5 separate regions of the Homo sapiens genome follow, and all the other regions are linked to region 5. Evidence: promoter capture Hi-C in 16 types of primary human blood cells and fetal thymus (Javierre and others, 2016). All regions are on one chromosome and are shown on one strand. Each heading gives the region's core, a stretch centred on a gene start or on the middle of the fragment in contact. The rest is flanking DNA. Distances are from core to core; before and after follow the strand shown. Region 1 overlaps FBN1 (fibrillin 1). Region 2 overlaps FBN1 (fibrillin 1). Region 3 overlaps FBN1 (fibrillin 1). Region 4 has its middle 73 kb from the start of DUT-AS1. Region 5 holds the start of FBN1 (fibrillin 1).

Region 1 (3,380 bases), core at 881-3,380, 190 kb after region 5:
TGAAGCAGAGAACACAACATTGGGAGAGATGCTTGTGCAAGAATCAGAAGTATTACACAGCACTCAGCCAGTGCAGGCAATGCCCTTGTGGTTTAAAACCAAATAACATAAAAGTAGATGGAAAGCTATTGCATTCTCTGAGTTTTTCCCTGGTGTGATTTATATGCATCCTTAGATGCCCTCTTAAGTCTGCACAGTTGTGTCTAGTAGCAAACATCACCACTTGCTTTATTCCACCTTATTCATAATAAGTAAACTAAAATCCACATCAGCCTTTCCAGTGACCTTGTTTAAGAAAACAAGAGTCTGGTCCAGCAATCAGCCTGGCTCCCTTAGTGCCAAATCCATATGGCTCCACAGTCTCGTCCACGTCCAAAGAAACTTCATGGTTTGGAAAGAAAAACTGCTAAATGACATTGGCATGGAACACCTGGCCCTAGCTGCTTTGTTTTTCCCCTTCCCAAAACAGATCTTTTAACCTCCCTAGAATCTGTGATCACAAGATAAGTGGTCTGTAATGGTAGTGGTTCTCCACGGACCAACCAGGCATGTACCCCAGCAAGGCTGCCCTCCAAGTTTGGCAGTAAGCAAAGACTAGAAAGAACATTAGCGTTGTCCACTAGGAGAGCTGGAAAGGCTTCAGACTTCATCTAGTCCAAATGCCTTGCTTCATATTTGAGGAGACAGAGGCCCAGAGAGGGGAAGGGACTCACCCAAGGCCACCCAGCTAATTAATAACAGAGCTGGGACCAGAACACAGTCCTGACTCATGGCTTAGTTTGCTTCTAGCTCTTGAAAACTGGACATCTGTTATTTAGCTATATGCTTATTGTTACCAAATTCCAGCATGACAAAATATTTAGATGACTGAAAAACTTTGTTTTATTTAAGCTTTATACTCTCCTTTTGGAAGATCTTATGATTGTTGGCATGTGGAGTCCATTCATATAGGGTTAAAACTATAGCATGTTTATCAATCTTGTCTTAAAATATAAACTTCACTAAGTTGAAGTTCAAATAAAATCCTGACAGGAAAAGAAAATATAATTTTTAATATATCCTTTTGCTATTTTATACCTAACAATGGCTGGAAATTAGACTCAGCCCGTTATTGTTAAACTTGATAATAATATATCACTTATATTTAAAACGAATGTGAATATGATGTTTCGTGTTCTAACCCACACTGAATGAATGGCATCTGAATTTGTTTTTTGTTTACTTATGATACACAGTTGTGATGTAACTTTATATGGCATTTTCATGACATGAATGACAAAGGTGTGAAAGATCTAAAGACATAATTGCGTGTATTCAAAATAGCAATGAACCCTTTGAGATTCTAAGCTGTTTCTTTTCATTAAATAGGTCAATTTTGCCTTCACACAAAATCAAGCCCTTTTTTAAAAAGGGTCTAAAATAAATCTATGACATCAAATTTCTCCTTTAAAACAGATTGGTTATAGAGTGTGGTTCTTCTAAAATTGCAGCAGCTCTTGTAGGCTCCACTTCAGTCCGTGATCATCTTCTCACAAGTATGCAAGCAAAGTATGTACCTTGCAAAGGCTCCTGACTATAATAAGTAAACAACGTATCTCAACAACAGTCATAGAAACTAGTGAATTGGAAGACTTTGGATTGTAGACCAAGGCTTTGCATACCTCCCAGCTGAGGTGTTTCATCAAACCCAGCCAAGGGGCTGATGGAAGGGCCCTCCAGGATAACAAAAGTGTTGATGACAGTTCTGTGAAGATTGTATTAGGGTGATGCAGGAAATCACCATAATACGATCTTCCCTTATATGATAAGGGAGGCAGGATGGCCTGTTAACTGAGTCCCAGTGTCAAATCCTGACTCTGCCTTTCATTGGCTGCTTGGTCTTGGGCAGGTTATATCCTGTGGCTTGGCCTCACTTGCTTCATCTCTTAGTTAGAATAGTCATAGTACCGAGACCATCTCATGGGGTGGCTGTGATAATTCAGCCAATAAATACAGGTTGAATGCTTGAGAAATGTACCAGTCATGCAGCAAATGAGATACTGTCACTATTAATACTATTACCATTATTACTACTATTACTACTCTTATCCTAGAGGGCACTTCAGTGGTCAGGAGTTCAGAGTGGGTAAGACAGAGATGGGACCACTCCAGGCTGGGGACATGGCCAAGCTGGTGAGGTGTCCAAAGTCTCTATCCATAGCTGGCCAGCCCTGCCTTAGCAGCCTGGATCCTGGCTGTGTTCTCACTCTTGGTCCTGTTTTAGTGCTCACCAACACACTGCCAGACACTTGCTCTTAACTGAACAAATTTGAATTGAGCACTTACTACCTGTCATGTAGAGTGCTAAGGAACCATAACACAGTGTTGGAGAGCCAAGCCCAACTCCCAGTCTTAGGAAGCACACATTCTACTGCGACAGTTCTTCCTTGGTGCTGACCTCGTTTTTATTGTCAGCCCCAGCCCAGCTGACATCCCCACACCTGACTTACCTCCTTTCTAAAGCCACATGAAGTAGGAAGGGGGAGTTAAACTGGAATTTGAAAGATCAGAGTTCCATATGACCATGTGCTCCTCTGTGGTTCTTTACCAGCTCACCTCTGCCTTTTTCCCTAAATATAGGCACACTTGGGTGGAGAGGCTGTTTACCCTTGACCATCCCTCTATTCTACTCATCTGGTGCATCCACAGTGCCCAGAGGATACAAAGATATCTCCTACCTGTACAAAATTGACATTCTGAAGCAAAACCCAGAACATATATTTAAATCCAGTTAGACTCATGTCTGGAAAGTGGTTTAGTTATCTCAATTTGCTATTCGTTGATGTCCCTATTGCCATCACCACCACCCCAACACATGCACGCACACACACACACACACACACACACACACGCACGCACTTTCCATCTTGTCTTACCCTGCACAGGGATCATGTGCTGTCCTGTCACTCATGAATGACTACTCTGTCTCTAGATATTGATGAGTGCCGGGAGATCCCAGGGGTCTGTGAAAATGGAGTGTGTATCAACATGGTTGGCAGCTTCCGATGTGAATGTCCAGTGGGATTCTTCTATAATGACAAGTTGTTGGTTTGTGAAGGTAAGTGGCATCATGACTTTATCATATCCAGAAAAGAGCTAACTGATGAGCTACTTGATACACACTTGGCGAATTTCACAACATTGAAATTTCAGAAATGCATTAAGCTCTAGAAATAGTAAAGGGCATGGTGTGGAACAACATGAAATTTCATGCAAAAAAAAAAAATTCACTAACTTCAGTGGAAAAACCAGGAGGCACATTCCCAGCCCCTTTCCCCCAACACACAGTGTGTTAATATTAGACTTCCCAGCTGATATGAAAAAGCTTTGAGTTCCTGGGT
Region 2 (4,378 bases), core at 1,099-3,598, 210 kb after region 5:
AGTCCAGTCCACAGTGTTATGGTACAGAAAAATACCTTTATTATTGTAAGAGTTTGGAAACTCAGTTGCCCTTTGTGTGTCCACATTGTGTGTTTGGTACCTGATGATGTCTCCATCGTGTTTTGACTTTGTTTGACTCATGTGATTCTTTTAGATATTGATGAGTGTGTCGAAGAGCCAGAAATTTGTGCCCTGGGCACATGCAGTAACACTGAAGGCAGCTTCAAATGTCTGTGTCCAGAAGGGTTTTCCTTGTCCTCCAGTGGAAGAAGGTGCCAAGGTAAGTGTCTTTGAAGGCTTTGGGCTTTCAATGCTGCATGTTTATTTGTGGTGGTCTTATTTTTCAAACATGGCAAAGCTCTGTTTCTTTGTGAACAGGAAGATGGAGAGTTTTCATTCACCCAGAGGTCTAATGATAACCATATGTCAGAAGGTTCATTTTCACTTTTAAGGTTAAAAACTCATCCATCAAGTTATGGTTGCTTATACAATTGTACTGACACATAAACCTCTCTCCCACTAAGAACACAAATGCTGATAGGCCCATCAGTGGGGAAACACCTTGAGCCACCGAAACAGCAAAGCCTGGGGGAAGTTGAGCTACATATCCCCTACCTCTGAAGAGATAAGCTGAAAAATGTGGGTCCAAAGTTAGACTTGAGACTGAAAAACTGCACATTAACCCATTTGCCCCCACAATATGGTAACCATCCCTTATATCACAAATTCTCCAAGAAAACAAAAATAAATTTAAACTGATCAGGATTCTTGCTGGGCCATTGTTCATTTTTAGGAATAATACTTGTCAACTATTTGAGTAAAGATTTTCAAGGGTTTGCCAATGACTTTCAAATTTTAAACAAAAATCAAAAGGATCCTGAACTTTGGCATAACACAGTATGTACTTAAGTCCCAGAAAACTGTTTAGACTTTTCTAAACAATACAGTTGTGTATGGATATCTACATACACAAACTAGTTTCATGAATTCCGGGGAAGGGAGATGAAACAAACACATGTATTTCTTTTTTTTCCACTTGTAGCTTTTGTTGTTTGGTTGTTACTGTTGTTTTGATGTTGAGTTGGGTTTTTTTTTTTTTTCATGGTTTTTTGGTTTTGCTTCCGTATTACCAAATATGGAAGAGGCACTGGATATCATTTAAGGTTCAAAAAATTGAGTTTGGGGTCCCAGCCCTGCCATATTTAGTCTAGAGCAAGTCATTTAATCTTTTGGAAGCTCAATTTCCTCATTTTAAACAACAATAATATCTGCCCAACCAGCCTTACTGTGACAAAGCTTTGTTAGTTTCTGAGTCCTTTGTAGACTCTTGTTGTTATTCTAATGATCTGATTAACTTTTTACTTTTCAACTAGTTATTTGGGAAGTAAGAAGGAGAGGGTTGAGAGTTCTCCGGTTGATTTCAGCTTGTTGGTAGTTGTCAGTGGTCTGTGTGGATTTCAGGGTGGTGCTTAATTCGAACAGATATTCTGCATGGTACAGACCAGTCAGATAAATTCTAACTCCTACTCCCTTGTTTTTGTGTGCCTTTGGCTTGGCCTGAATTTGGAAAGAAAGCAGTGAGAAACCAGGTGTGAATCTGCCGATGTGGCAGGCCAGAGGAAACTCCTAGGCTATTAATTCAATTTGCACTGGCCCATCACAGAGCAAGCTAACGCTGCAGGAAGAATCAGCCCAGCTGTGAGCAGCCCTGCCACATGCTCAGCTCCAGGAGGCAGAGCCAGAACTGAGGAATGCAAGCAGGGAAAGTGACTTTTGTAGTTCTGATGAAATTTCGAGGTCATTAAGGGCTCTTTGCAGATGGACTGGTAAACAGGCATCCCAGTGAGTCCTGAAGTATGTGGGCAAGCACAGCTCTCTTCCCCAATGCAAGACACCCTTGATTAATAAGCCAATTCTAGAGAATCACCACAAGCTAAAGTAAGTCTCCTACAGAGCACAGATTTTGCTGGAGCCAGGAAATTGAGAGCTGGGTTTTTCTTGTAAGATGACAAATTAGGAGTCAGACTTCTATTGCTCATGAAATGAGAAAATTCCACAGAACCGTGGATAATGTTTTTTAAAAAGCGAATGCCATGGGACTCAGGTGGACAGAGCCTGGCACAAAAGACCACAGGTGTAAATGAGCCACTCCCACTTGCAAAGTTCAACGAAGAGAATTTGCCACTTAGACTGACTCAAGACTTCGTGCATTTGAGTCTCTGTCTAATGCCAAGATTTTTTTTTTTCGGGGTGGAGTGGTGTGGGGGAGATAGAGCTGGGGTCTGGGACGAAGTCAGCTATTAAAGGAAAAGAGAATGAGAATTTTAATACACCAATATTACAACATACATATTTAAAGAAACACTACAAACTGGAAGACAAAGCAGAGTTAAGTTTTCATATATTTGTTGAGACATTTTTGTGAGTAGTCACTGAATTATATCTAAAGGTAGTTGGAGGCATAAATAACAAAAACAAGACTGATAAATACAAAACATTATATGTGACAAAGAACTTGAAGAATAAAAGAGATCAAAAGTGTTCTCCAAGAAACAAGAATTTGTTCAGTCTTGAAGTTTCTCAGCAAAGCAAACATTTGGGTGGCAGAGATGCCGCAGGATTGACTTTTATTGCTCTTGACCTTCAGAAGGATAATTCATTGAAAGGTGCTTGCCAGGTCCTTGCCACAACAGATGGGGAAGTGGAATAGAAATTAGAGAGATGATTTATCTGGATGAGTTGGTAGCCATGAAAGGTTGAGCAGGTTTACTGGGGAGGCTACCTGAATTTGATTTACATAACTTGGTAAATATAATAGATAGATAGATAGAAACTTTAATTCATGAAAACCTTTCCTTTGTTATCTCTGGCAACTCTGTTATTCCTACATTGTCTTCTTTGTCATGAAATAAAAGCTGGTGAGACTGTCTTAACAGAAGTGCTTAGGTGGTTATGATAGTATGGTTCCTGGGATTGAAAAACAGTGATGGAAGTGAATGAAAAAGGCAGAGGTGGTCAGATATAAAGAAAGAAGAATAGTACAATATGGGTATGAAAGCATTTCTTTTAAACCTGCAGATTGTGGCCTCTGTGTAATGAGAGGAGTTTTGGAAGGCTTTAAGAAGTCAAGTTCGAGGGAAAACACAGTCCATACCTCTGGTTGAGCTCACTTTTTGGAGTCAATGTGTTGTATGAGAAATGGAAAAGCCCGTTTCCAAAATTATGTCAAGCAATGTTGGAGAATTTTATAGGAAGTAGATCCCATCTTCTTTGTTGGAGTCATCAAAGCAATAATCAATATTGAAATATATTCTTTCAAAGAAAGACTATTCTGTTCCCACCCACCCACAGCCCTGCCCTCCTCTTCCTTCCCTCTCTGTGTTGAGCTAAACAAGCTTCTTTTAAAAATTTAACATTGACACAGCTCTGCATATGTGTGTGTGTGTAAAATCTACAAAAAGCCCCACTTGCATTTTGTAGCCAGCATCTCCGGGAGTATCTGCTTCAGTGACCAACCCTTGTGTTGTATTTTTGCCCATCTACAAAGTTGCCACTTCTGTATTTGTTCTGTGCCTGTGATCTGGGATTTTATTTTAGTTCCAGAGTTTAGGGGACACAGAATAAACCACAAAGTGTGATATCACAGTAAATATTAGAACTAAGAGGATTCTCTTACTCTAGTGTGCTCATTAAACATGATATTGCAAGCAGAGCTATCAATGAAGGAATCTTGTGAATGATTCCTTCTGTGGACTTTCCAATCCTGAAGTCACTGACAGATGTCAGTTTTGAAAACTGTCAGTTTTGGATTTTATTGGATTCACATCGGGTTACTTTGAAATAGTGACTAAAATGAGAAGTAATAAATTTAAGTTCATAGAGTTGTTCATCAGATCTCACTATACAAAAGATACCCATGACTTTAACAATCTCAGCTCAGTTACCATTAGAATCACGTAAGGAGTATTGCTGTGGTCCTGAGAGGAGAACATATATAACATAGTGGGTTGTTCTTTATTTGCTATGGTGCAATACGGACTCAGTAGGAAAGCAACTGAAGGGTGTCATAAATTTATGCTGCAGATTTGCGAATGAGCTACTGTTATGCGAAGTTTGAAGGAGGAAAGTGTTCATCACCCAAATCCAGAAATCACTCCAAGCAGGAATGCTGCTGTGCCTTGAAGGGAGAAGGCTGGGGAGACCCCTGCGAGCTCTGCCCCACGGAACCTGATGGTATGTCTGTCATCTGCATTTCTCTCTGGGCCATGCAGGGTGCAGACTGGCCATGATGTAAGTAAGACTGTAGGCCTTAAAGACAGTAACACAATTTAATTTAATTGTAAGTCTAATTAGAATGTTCATTAAAAATTATTTTATC
Region 3 (3,445 bases), core at 946-3,445, 220 kb after region 5:
CAGGCAGGAGGTGCTTCCCTGGGGTTAATGCCTCCATGGGACCTACCTCCTGTGCTGGAGGGAAGGAGGCTAAAGCCAGGGAGATTGTGGAGGAAGCAGCTGTCCTTGCTGCATGCCCCCTGGGCATCCATGGTGGCCATCCATGACTGTCTCAGAGATAGCAGGGCCAGCTTCAATGGCTCTGGTGGGGCAGATTCTTAATTGGTGACCTCCTCTCTGCTTTCTGTTTTTTGTATTTATTCTTTATAGCTATATAGTTCAGGTTTCCAGGAAGGTCCTGCCTCGGAATAATCAGTGCCATGATCGTAGAGGACATTGTGCCTAATGAATTAGATGCTGTGTCCAGATTTTTGTTCTGCAGAAAAAGTCTATTTCTGCCCTGTAGGAGCTTCCCTGAGACATAAATATCACACAGAATTAAGAACCAGAAAAGCTCTGGGCAGAAATCCCTTCTCAACCAGAAGTTATCCTTTGCAAAATTTTTTTGGTTTAATTTTACTCCTGTAAACATCTTCCTCCACAATAAGAACATTATATTTAGTGAATAGCACTAGTGAGTCATACTTAACAATAATTTGGGAAATCAGAGATTTGGAGAAGAAAAGATAGACCAAGTGGTAGAGCAAGAGATATCATGTCATGCCATGAAACTTTGAAGGAAATTTATAGAAACATACAGAAGTAAGGAAGGTAAAGGATAGAGTGGAGTCTTTTTCCTATTTTTTCTCATAAAGCTTAAGTTCTTCCACTTACTTGGTATATATAACTAAATATCAAATGAATGATGCAGCTGTGTGTACCACTGAACTGAGAAGAGGCTAGAAGGGTGGAGGGTGGGACCAGCACATCCCCACGGAGGATCCAGATTGGAGGAGAGGAGAGGAGAGAAGTGGAGAGCAGAGAGAAGTTGGGCTCTTGACCTCTTTCCTGTGTCTGCTGAAAGGGAGAGTTAAGAGACATGTAATAGTGGATGACATCATGGGCAAGTGCCTGAGGCCTTCCTGTGCAGCACAAAGCCTGTATAATCCTGTAGTTTGGGGAGAGGAAGTTGAGAGACCTACTTACACATTCTAAACATCTTAAATGAAGTCGCTCATAGCTTTGTTCTTCTCAAATGTGGAACTTATTTTACATCTGGGGTCACTGTGAGTTCTAGGCAATGTGAAGCTATAACTCAGAGCCATAAATTTATTCATATAAATGAAGAACCAAATTCAAGGGGAAAATATCTCTCATTGTATATATTATCTGTAACAAGCAAAACAAATTTATAGCATTTTTTCTAACCTCTGGGGGCAGAAAATTCTCAAAAGTTTCCAGCAATTAAAAGATGAAAAATGAAAATGCATCAATAAAGTTCTCTTTATGGCTTTAGGAGTGCAAAGAGCAACTGTAATTTTTACATGTCCACTCACAACTTGTCCCTTTTCCTGTTTTTTCCCATAAGGTTCAAATTCTTCCACTTACTTGGTATATATAACTAAATATCAAATGAATAGTGCAGATAGTTGCACCACAGTCACTGAGAAGGAGGAAGCCAGAAGGGTGGCCGTGGGAGCAGCACATCCCCAGTGAGAGATGGGTAGAATGCAGATTAGAGGGGAGAAGAGGAGGAAGGGCATCTTGGAGGCAAGAGCAGCAAGTGCTGCTGTTCTTCATGTGTTGTACTCATGAAATGGTGTTAGGAGAAATCACTGAGTCATCTTCCTCACCTGTTGCAGGTGAGCTTCAGCAAATGTGTCATGATGCTCCAGCCAAGCTCCTTGGGCCATAGACAGGGGAAACCAGTCCACAGACTCTGAGAAAGCTGAACAGAGAGTGCATATCAGTCAAGATCTCAGCAGTGGAAAGAGCACAGGACAGGCAGCATTATAAGAGAAGCCGGAACTAGGACAGGTCTCGGGAGGGTCTCTCAGTGTAGGTCCACTCCAGATGTTACTCTAGCCAGGAACTGGCCCTGTGGAGTGGAAGCAGTCACTGGCAAAGCTGGCACTGATCTGCAGCTCCAAAGCAGTTGTGCAGATGGTGAGGGCATAGTGGTTGAATTTGTGATAAAATAAAGTCACTAATGTTTTTTCCTGAATATGCGACAATTTTAAAATTATCATTAAAGTTTAGCTAGAAGCTAGAACACAACATTTCATCTCTTGGTATTTTGAAATAACATTGGAGTTGAGAATGCAACTTAGAAGTTGAGGCGTTGAGAAAAGAGGCCTGGTCAAAGCAGAGGGTTTTATTGAGATGTGGGAAACAATGTTGGATAAACACTGCAGGCAGTTGTCAGTTTTGGATTTTTGTTTTTTTTGTTTTTTGTTTTTTGTTTTTGTTTTTGTTTTTGTTTTGAGACGAAGTTTCACTCTGTTGCCCAGGCTGGAGTGCAGTGGTGCGATCTCAGCTCACTGCAACCTCTGCCTCCCAGGTAGCTGGGATTACATGCACACACCACCACACCCAGCTAATTTTTGTATATTCACTAGAGACAGGTTTTGCCATGTTGCCCAGGCTGGTCTCAAACTCGTGAGCTCAAAGTGATCAGCCTGCCTTGGCCTCCCAAAGTGCTGGGAATACAGGCATGAGCCACCACGCTTGGCCTGGAGGCAGTTTTATTAAAAGTGCCTTTAGCTATTAAAATGAATTTTTCCTTTGCTTTGTTTCCTTCCTGATTGCTCAATTTTGGTTTATCCTAAGAAGAATCACGACTAAAGAAATCAGATTTTGTTTTTGATGACTTCATTTGAGTAGATTAAAAACAGCAAACAGAAGAGAACTAAGCCAGCAAATTCATTTCCAGCTTCAACATTTCTCTTTATGTTTTAACTTAAATAGATCTTTTCAAAGCTCTGGAAAATTTGCAGAATCATTCATCTTTCGCTTCATTTAAAAATTTGTTTAAAATGTCATGATTTATTTGAAATTCCTTTGTTGAGGAATTCCTGCATTTCTCCAATTAGAATTGTGTTTTCTTGGATCCCCTAAAGATCTCTTTATATTTTTTTGAGGGGAGGAGGGTCTAAATTGACACCTTGTTTTATCTTTCAGATCTTTACCCCCTGTGTCTCTCCTTGCCTTTTGCTGTGGCTTCTTTCTAGTCAGGGTCATTTGAGACCTCCAAATCAAACGTGGAGCTGCTTCATAGGGTCAGCTTCCCTGATCCTGTTTTGTTGGCTTGACTCAAATGCCTCTCTTGCATTTTCTTGTAGATCTTGATGAGTGTGCAACCAAGCAACACAACTGCCAGTTCCTATGTGTTAACACCATTGGCGGCTTCACATGCAAATGTCCTCCCGGATTTACCCAACACCATACGTCCTGCATTGGTGAGTAGGAGAGGAAAAAATCCTACATGGATTGTAGCGATTCTTTTAAGGGATTATTTTCTATTTCCTCTGCTGTTGGGATAAGAAAATAAAAGCTCAAAGAAATATATGAGTGCATGTATGTGTGA
Region 4 (4,421 bases), core at 543-3,042, 240 kb after region 5:
GCAGTGAGCTGAGATTACACCACTGCACTCCAGCCTGCATGGAAGAGTAAGACTCCATCTCAAAAGAAAAAGAAAAAAAAAATCTGAATTATAACTTCTACAAATGGATGTCAGTTTCATTTTTTACTGTTGGATGGTAGAAGGACTGAACCAAGTTATAGCAGGTAAGTGGATGCGATTTCTGGCTAGCTCCACCCTCTGCTATCTCTTCATTGTGATTTTTGATCTTTGTGACCATCCCCATTTCATAAATGAAGGCAAAATTATCCTCTCTGTGCTCCCCTGTGCCCCCTGTGGGTTGGTTATGGTGTCAGCTAGAAGGCATCAAGCCTTCCAAGTACTTCTGGAATCCATAGCTTGGGTTCAAATCTAAGCAACACAGAGGTGGAGATTTTAAGCAAAAAGCAGCTGCTCCATTGAGCATTTCCTAACTTTCATATCCCACCTGATGTATTCTTTGCAGCTGTGCTGGGAGTTGCAGAAATAAGAAGAGATCTGTTTCCTTTTTACCCTGAAATACTCTCTTGGGGAGAATTAAATCAAACCTACATGATCAACCTTTTTCTTCTCCTGGAAATGGAGACATTTGAAAACATCCTGATGATAATCACACATCCCATCAGTCCTACTAGACAGTGACAGAGGTCACAGGCCTTTGTAGTTGTGTCTACGTGGTGAACTCTGCTCTGCGTGGCCCCACCAGCTCTGCTATGGAGGCCAGACCTGTCAGAAAAGATTAATGAGACCTGAATATATCAGAATTTCCAAGGCTCAACAGACTAGATTGGGTTTGTGTCTGTGTATTTTTGTAACTACATGAAATCAGCACGATGTGCTGTTTAGCCTTTCTGTCTTCAGCTGTATGGAGATTATCCCTCTTTGGGCAGTCCCATGATCAGGCGGGGTGGCAAGCTCCTCCCTGAGGCCTGCTGCTTCCTGCGCCTTTGTGGCTTGGCTTCCGTGGGCTCTCTGGTGGGTCATTCACAGGAGGTGTGGTGCCTCCAGCTGGGGAGTCAGTGTGCTGTTTAACCAGCTCCCCAGGAGAAAATGGCTCCCGATCTCATGCCCACATGTTCACCCCCACAGGCCTCACCCCTACCAGGAGAGGACACGGAAGCCAGGTGCACCATCCTTAAAGGCTGATGCTTTCAGCCTTGATTTTTTTTTTTCCTAGCGTCAGTGATTCTTCATTTACAGAGCTTTGACCTTTCCGTGAGCTGCAAAGAAAGTTCACTGAGAGCTCATTTTGCTCCTGAGGAGTGCCTGCCTGAGAGTCCTGATACTGCAGGACATCTGGGGTCAGAAAGCTGTGCTCAAATCTTAGTTCCATCCCTTTCTAGTTATTCCACCCAGGGCAACTCCTTGATGTCTCTGAGCCTTATTATTGTGGATAATAGTAACACCTTCCCTATGTCCTTGCTGGACCATTATTACCCACTATATATAAAAGTCTAATACTTCTGTAGAACTTCACAGTTTTAACAAGCACTTGTGAACTGTGACCTCTGATCCTCAATCCTCACCTCAATCCTAGATTTTTATCATCCTAATCATGCACAAGTTGGGGTCTCTTGCCAAAGGTCTCTCACCCTAAAGAGTTGGAACTGAGAATAAAAACTCCAGATCTTCTGACAACACAGTGCATACCCAGTTCACTGTGCTTGCCAGAAGAATGAATAAAATGTAACACAAGAAAGTAAAATAGGAATCTGTAAGCTACAAATTATATTGTGATTCAAGATCTAGGCTTCTCTCTGCTCTTCTAGAAACCAAGAGAAGGCCAAGGAGAGAGTGGGCCATACCGTTGTCAGTCCTCTTGCTTCTCTGCTTGCTCCCCTCCCTCGCCCCTCAGTAAATCTCTTCATGGCCCCTGTAACCCGCTGCTGCCATACGAGGCCTCTGATGACAAGGACTAGGCCTGCTTTGTCCTCGTAGCTTTATCACCCAGCTCAGTGCCTGGCACATAGCAGGCACTTAATATGTGTTGAAAGGATCAATGACTGAGATTAGGAGAAGGAAAATAGGAAAAATCTCTGCAGAAGAGCAACCTATTTCTTCTATCTCTTCCTCTTCATCTCCCTCCCTTCGTTTTTCTGAAAAAAATATTTTCTGAGCACTTGCCTTGAGCCATCTGCATGAAGCAGTAGAGACAAAGATGAATGAAGCCAAGTTCCTAACGCAGAGGTACTTTCAAATAAGGGGTAGCAGAGCAGTTCTCTCCCAGCTATAGTCAGAGGGGATGTGAGCCTTTGAGGCTCTTGAAGGAAGTAGCAGGGTGTATGATCTTCAGTGCCTTGGTCCTAGAAGCCAGGAGGCAAGCTATGCTTCTGTACTATGTTCCTTCTGACATCTGTAAAGCCCCGTGTCTAGATCCTTATGAATCACTGAAATTAAAACACCCTTCTAACCTATCTCCCCCATGTAATGCTGTGGTAGTTTTCACATAAAATGGTGATTTTCAGTGGTGAGTTCATTTTTAAAGTTAAATTTCTATATTTAAATGAAACTTACTCTGAAATCCAATACATAAAATATAAGCAGGGCTTCGTGGGTTAAAGCCAAGCTAGGCAACCTGGAGACACTCACTGCCTCCAAGACAATTCTTATTAAAAATTATAACAGAGTGTGTGGGCTCATGCCTGTGATTTCAGCACTTTGGGAGGCTGAGGCAGGTAGATTGCTTGAGCCCAGTCTGGGCAACATAGGGAGACCCTGTCTCTACAAAAAATACCCAAATTAGCCAGGTATGGTGGCACATGCCTGTAGTCCCAGCTGTTGGGGAGGCCAAGGCAGGAGGATTACTTGAGCCTGGAAGGCCAAGGCTGCAGTGAGTCATGATCACACCACTGCACTCCGGCCTGGGCAGACATATTTCATACTGTAAAGGACCCTTTTTTTTTTTTTTTTTTTTTTTTTTGAGATGGAGTCTCGCTCTTTCGCCCAGGCCGGAGTGCAGTGGCACCATCTCGGCTCACTGCAAGCTCCGCCTCCCGGGTTCACGCCATTCTCTTGCCTCAGCCTCCCGAGTAGCTGGGACTACAGGTGCCCACCACTGCGCCCGGCTAATTTTTTGTATTTTTGGTAGAGACGGGGTTTCACCGTGTTAGCCAGGATAGTCTTGATCTCCTGACCTCGTGATCCGCCAGACTTGGCTTCCCAAAGTGCTGGGATTACAGGTGTGAGCCACCGTGCCCGGCCATAAAGGACCCTTTTATTTCGAATATAAGTGTGTGTGTATGTATATATATACATATATATGTAAAAACAATATACATATAAAATGTATATGTATGATTGATTCTACGAATAGAAGAGAAAAATAATATATAAAGTTAACTTTTTTCATTTTTTGAGATGGAATTTCACTCTTGTTGCCCAGGCTGGATTGAAATGGCACAATCTCAGCTCACTGCCACCTCTGCCTCTGGGTTTCAAGCGATTCTCCTGCCTCAGCCTCCCAAGTAGCTGGGATTACAGGTGCCCGCCACCACGCCCAGCTAATTTTGTACTTTTAGTAGAGACGGGGTTTTTTCATGTTGGTCAGGCTGGTCTCGAACTCCCGACCTCAGGTGATCCACCCATCTTGGCCTCCCATAGTGCTGTGATTACAGGCTTGAGCCACTGTGCCAGGCCATATAAAGTTATTTTTAAATATTGGTACTTAAACTCTAAGCCTTTGGTTCTTAAATTAGGAAGTTATAAGCATTTTTATGATATTTATATGTGGCAGGAATGGACTACAAGCTCACCAACCCTGTATTTTTTCTCCTGGGCCGCAGAAAGATGGCATATCCTAACTTCTTCTGCAGTTAGGTTGGAGCTGGGTGATGTGATTCTAACCAGCGGGATGTCAGGAGGTGTGATGTATACCATTTTCAGGTCTAGCTGAGAAAACACTTATGCAATCATCCACACTCACAAGAAATAAACTTTCTCGTAGTAAACCATTGATATCTGGGGACTCCTTGTTGTACCAGCTATATTAATTACCCTCATACAAATAAATAATAAATAAATAAATATTCTCCACTTTTTCACTATAAGGAATCCACAGCAACGGTTCTCAAACTTGGTTGCATGTTAGAACTGCTTAGGATGCTTTTAAAAAGAATCCCAGTGTCCTGACTGCACCCCAGACCAATTAATTCAGAATCTGGATTTGAGGTTCAGCCATTATCAGTTTTAAAAGCTCTCCAGTTGACTGCAATTTGCAGCCATGGTTAAGAAACACTTTTCTAAATCTTTAGATAACACAGATGAGGGTGTTTTCTTGGGGAAATCCACCATTTAATTCTGGTATGTGCCCTTCCACTATTGTTACCGCAGTCTGCAGGACATTGTGTTATCACCTAACAATATTAACCATGCCATTTCCTGACTCTGTGAGCTGTGTTTTTACTGGAGTTTTGCGGCATGTCATC
Region 5 (4,469 bases), core at 563-3,062:
TATGTTTTAGACTTAAGTTAAATATCACTTCCTCAGGGATCCCTTTCCTGATCAGCCCTAGCCTAGGTCAAGTCCCCTTGTTATATATCCTCCAAGCAAGCACCCAGTACTTATCCTGTTTGGCGCTTAACAATTGGTCCATTATTTGTTTCAAGTCTGCCTTTCCTTGTTGACTACCTGCTGTGTGAGGGGAGACACATTTCTGCCCTTTTCACTAAATTGTTGAAGTCAGTCGTGTTCAAATTGTTGAACCTGCCTTGTTAAAATTGTTGAAGTCTAGTTCAACAATGCACTAAGTAGTACACAGTTCGTGCTCAGTAAAAACATCTTGAATGAATGATCTCCTTTACTCAGCCAGGAGTGTGTGACCAAGGCTCTCATTCATGAATCTGCTAAGAGACCTTTTGCAGGTGAGACCTTAAAGTACACCACATACATACTTACAGGACTATGGCTTTAGATCAGCTCATAGTTCCCACAGTTTTTCTGTTTCATCTTCATGTATCACAGCAGTTCAGCATGTCCATCATCACCATTACAACCCTGTGTGGTGGACACTACAAGTCCCATCTTGTATTTGGAAAGAAGTTGAATAACTTGCCCAGGTCTCTCTACCCTACTGTCTGGGCCCCTTTACAAACGGTTACAAATAAGGAAAATCCCTTTCAACAAGATACATTCCCAGGGTACCTGTTTGTGCTGAGCTTTTATTATTGGCTTGACAGCAGGCTGGTGGCTGCTTGCAGGGGATCTTCTGGGGGTCTCCAGTTACAGCAGCCAGGACCCAGTGTGCGACTTCAGGCCTTCCTAAACTGTTACAGGGTGCAGGCATCATTGGGCATTATCCATATAAGGATGCCACAAATACTATACCTTTCAAAGCCACTAAATTCACTGTGCCGCGCATATCCTGGGGAGAGGCAGCTGTGTGTGGGGGAGGGCGAGGGGACCGGGAGGGTGTAAGTAGAGTCCTCCAGATGAACCCCAGTCTTAATCTGGGCTGGGCAAGAGGACCATCCCTTCACCGCTCCCATCCTACATCCTAGGTTCCAACATTTACAGGCCCCTGGGTTGGACACCGACTTAGAGAGAGCACCCTGGATTCAGGCCTGGGTGGCTTGAATTGAGCCTCAGAAGAGCCGCGTCTGGAGTGGGCTCTCGACACCCAGGGCAAGTGGGGGCGGCAGAGCCCTCTCCTCGGTCGGCACAGCAGCCTCTGCCGCGGTCCCGGCCTGCGACGCGCCCAGTCTTAGCCTCCCGGCCTCCGGCGTCTGCTGAGTGTCCGGCGGGAGAGGCGCAGGGAGCGCGCTACCGGGAGGCGCGGGCAGCGGGGACTGGTTTTCTCTCGGGCCAGGGCCTCCGGGGCAACCGTCTCCAGCGCGCATTCTTGGTGCAGGTGGAACAGCTTTCTGCTCCGGTAGGGCTTCACCTATCGCGGGAGAGGTTAATCTCGGATCTAAACCTCGCAGCCGCAGAGCGGGCTAAAACCGCTACTCCACCTCTTCCCATTTCTCCCCTCCCCACCTCAAGACAAAAAGTCCCAGGCCGGGCAGGACCTGATCACCTCTGCCTCCTCCCACTGCGCTAATCCTGCGAGCGAGAGGCCCCGCACCGAGGCGGAGGCTGGCAAAGGGGAGTGGAAAGGGAGGATGGATGGGGCCGGGGGGTGGGGTGGTGATGAGGGCGACGAAGGAGGGGGTGTCATTTTCTTTTTCTTTCTTTTTTTAAAAAAAGTATTTCTCTCGCGAGAAACCGCTGCGCGGACGATACTTGAAGAGGTGGGGAAAGGAGGGGGCTGCGGGAGCCGCGGCAGAGACTGTGGGTGCCACAAGCGGACAGGAGCCACAGCTGGGACAGCTGCGAGCGGAGCCGAGCAGTGGCTGTAGCGGCCACGACTGGGAGCAGCCGCCGCCGCCTCCTCGGGAGTCGGAGCCGCCGCTTCTCCAGTGGGTGCAGCCGGGGTCCCGACGGGGGTCGGGCGGCCACCGGGGCTGGAGCTGCGGCCACGGAGGCTTTTGCGTTTGCGCCGCGCCGAGGGCAGGGACAGGGACTGGGGTGAGGGGCTGTCCCGGAACGTCCACAGCTGGCGCTGGCCCTCCCCTGCCTGACAGCTTCCTGGCCCGGGGCTCTTGGTGCCGGGCTCCGCGTCAGATGTTCGGGGGGCGGTGGCATCGCCCGGAGTCGGCGGGGACGGCGCGGCTGGCTTCCAGCCTGGCGGAGAGGGCAGGCTGAGGAGTGGGGCGTTCAGAGCGCGCATCGCGCGCAATTCGTGCCGCTAAAAAAAATAAACCCAGAGAGCTCGCCCGGGGCTTAGGACCGCTGGGGATATGGGTACTTTGCGCCGCGCTCTTCTGGCGGGGCCCGGGAGGCCGAGGGATCGGCCGGGGCTGCTGCCGCCGGGGGCCTGGGCTTTCCAGCCAGCTGTGGACCAAACGGTCTTCCCTTACCCAAATTAACTGCGCCACGCGCAGGCGGCGCACGGGTTGGGCTTGGGAATGGGGACCGCGAGGCTTCAGCATCCCGATGCCCTGAAAGTCTCCCCGCCTCGGGGATTTGTCTCTGTGTTGCAGCTGGCAGGGGCCGCCTGAAGTGGGAGCAGCGCCTGGAGAAGGCGGGAGGAGCCCGGCCCGGGGGACGGGCGGCGGGATAGCGGGACCCCGGCGGCGCGGTGCGCTTCAGGGCGCAGCGGCGGCCGCAGACCGAGCCCCGGGCGCGGCAAGAGGCGGCGGGAGCCGGTGGCGGCTCGGCATCATGCGTCGAGGGCGTCTGCTGGAGATCGCCCTGGGATTTACCGTGCTTTTAGCGTCCTACACGAGCCATGGGGCGGACGCCAATTTGGAGGCTGGGAACGTGAAGGAAACCAGAGCCAGTCGGGCCAAGAGAAGAGGCGGTGGAGGACACGACGCGCTTAAAGGGTAAAGGAACCGGTTCCCTCCTTTGGTGTGGGTCTCCCAAGTTTCAAGATCCAGAACAACGGGCAGGATGACTCTCCCTGTGGAAGACTCCTTGGCAAGACCTCCTGGGGGCACCTTAGAGGTGCTAGGGTTGTTTAGTCCCCACCCCGTTCGTGGTTAAACTACCTTGCCCCTACTCCCAGAGATTTCTGCCCCAAAGGAGAGGACGTGGTTAAATGGAATCTTGGGCCATTGTTGAGGCAGATTTTGGGAGGCGAGAAGAGTTCCTTGGGGAAGAAGGGGAGGAGTTGCGAGTGGGATAAGAGGAGAAGCCCGTTCCTTTCCCTGCAATATCAATTCTGGTTGTTTCTAGAGGAAAGTACTTTCCTTGGGGTCATCTTGGTAGATGCTGTATTTGAAAGGGGGCAAGGAAAGGAAGGGATTCCCATGACAGTCAGAGGAGAAATCACACAGTAGTTGACTCTTCCGTAAATTATGCTTATTAAAATTACGGATTGGGTTTTCTGGGCAATGCTTCCTTTAGATGTCTACATTGGAAGCAGAACAGGGCAAGTGGTTCTGAGAACTGGTTTTTTGAGTTGTGTGGGGCTCTCCGTTTCACTGCAGCAGTAAGGCTGCTGTGGCCGGCCTTAAGGGAGTATTTTTAACTAGTGGTGTTTGTGTTGTGTACATGCAACTGACCATTTCACTGGCTTCCCATGCCGCTGTTACAGATGTTTCAGCCGGAAAAATTTTAATTAGACTTGACTAAGGGTTGTCATTTTCCTGTATTGAAGGACAGTGGGAATACATTTCCTTTAAGAGAAATTTGTCTGCAGTTGTTTAAGTTAAAGCCTCCATGGAAACAACAGGATGGACTGTCAGTGACCCCTTTTATCTTCTTGGAGGAGCCTGTTAAATAAATTCAGACAGTATATATAGGGAGATTTTGTATTAAATTCTTACCATTCTCGCTGATGCTCTTTTCCTGAGTGGTTCTGTAGCTTTATTATATAGCTCTGGGTCACCAAGTGATGGTATCCACTTGGATATGTGGCTGTTCATTTCACTTACTCTTTTTTTGTTATGAGGTGTTATAGTCATGTATATGTAGTAAAATTTGTGTTTGTATGGCCCAGATATGAGAAGAAAAAGTAAACTCACCAGACCAGTTTTTGACTCCTAGTCTGGAGTAAGGACAAGATGATTGTATGAGCCAAGCACTTAGGCTGTGATAAAATAGCACAGAAAATAGTTATGATTAATTCGGTTCCATCTTGGCCTTCGTGGAAAATAAACCCAGAATTCCGATAATGTTGGAAGGAAGTTTGCTTATCATGGTAAACCTGACCTTGATCAGACAGCAGATGTTTATTGCCCTGTGTGCAAGGCACATGGCAAGTTCAATAAGTAGACTGAGGCTCTGATTTTCATATGTTCTCAAGAGGACCTCATTTAGTCCAGTATTTTTCCTTCAAAAATACATTTCTCCTACATAATAATATCTTAATATCTATTCTGATAGGATTGCTCCTGTATATAAAGGACGTGGGGATTTAATTCTGTGGCTGAAGA

Evidence for each region. Contacts are between HindIII fragments. The CHiCAGO score rates a contact against its expected background, and 5 or more counts as called.
Region 1: a contact is called between a fragment that was not itself captured here and the fragment with the promoter of FBN1 in region 5, in 1 of 17 cell types (endothelial precursors). The highest score is 5.0, in endothelial precursors.
Region 2: a contact is called between a fragment that was not itself captured here and the fragment with the promoter of FBN1 in region 5, in 1 of 17 cell types (endothelial precursors). The highest score is 8.1, in endothelial precursors.
Region 3: a fragment that was not itself captured here is called in contact with the fragment with the promoter of FBN1 in region 5 in 1 of 17 cell types (endothelial precursors); the score reaches 5.4 in endothelial precursors.
Region 4: a fragment that was not itself captured here is called in contact with the fragment with the promoter of FBN1 in region 5 in 1 of 17 cell types (megakaryocytes); the score reaches 6.7 in megakaryocytes.

What each region holds. Positions count from the first base shown.
Region 1 is chr15:48,456,354-48,459,733 of GRCh38, reverse strand. It overlaps FBN1 (fibrillin 1), which reads left to right. Exons shown (of 66, transcript NM_000138.5): 44 at 2,972-3,097. Among named protein-coding and RNA genes, the nearest start is that of DUT-AS1, 130 kb to the right of the region's middle. The HindIII fragment of the contact is 2,473 bases long and covers 894-3,366 here.
Region 2 is chr15:48,437,623-48,442,000 of GRCh38, reverse strand. FBN1 (fibrillin 1) reads left to right here. Exons shown (of 66, transcript NM_000138.5): 50 at 155-280; 51 at 4,084-4,233. Among named protein-coding and RNA genes, the nearest start is that of DUT-AS1, 110 kb to the right of the region's middle. The HindIII fragment of the contact is 2,099 bases long and covers 1,299-3,397 here.
Region 3 is chr15:48,421,824-48,425,268 of GRCh38, reverse strand. FBN1 (fibrillin 1) reads left to right here. Exons shown (of 66, transcript NM_000138.5): 61 at 3,201-3,317. Among named protein-coding and RNA genes, the nearest start is that of DUT-AS1, 92 kb to the right of the region's middle. The HindIII fragment of the contact is 2,918 bases long and covers 737-3,445 here.
Region 4 is chr15:48,402,986-48,407,406 of GRCh38, reverse strand. No RefSeq gene overlaps it. Among named protein-coding and RNA genes, the nearest start is that of DUT-AS1, 73 kb to the right of the region's middle. The HindIII fragment of the contact is 5,889 bases long and covers 1-4,421 here.
Region 5 is chr15:48,643,052-48,647,520 of GRCh38, reverse strand. FBN1 (fibrillin 1) reads left to right here and starts at 1,812. Exons shown (of 66, transcript NM_000138.5): 1 at 1,812-1,946; 2 at 2,571-2,915. The coding sequence starts at 2,752. It overlaps FBN1-DT (FBN1 divergent transcript), which reads right to left and starts at 1,716. Exons shown (of 2, transcript NR_183872.1): 1 at 691-1,716. RefSeq lists enhancers at 1,648-1,737, 1,250-1,774 and silencers at 1,848-1,927, 1,968-2,147, 2,558-2,687, 2,788-2,837. The HindIII fragment of the contact is 7,208 bases long and covers 1-4,469 here.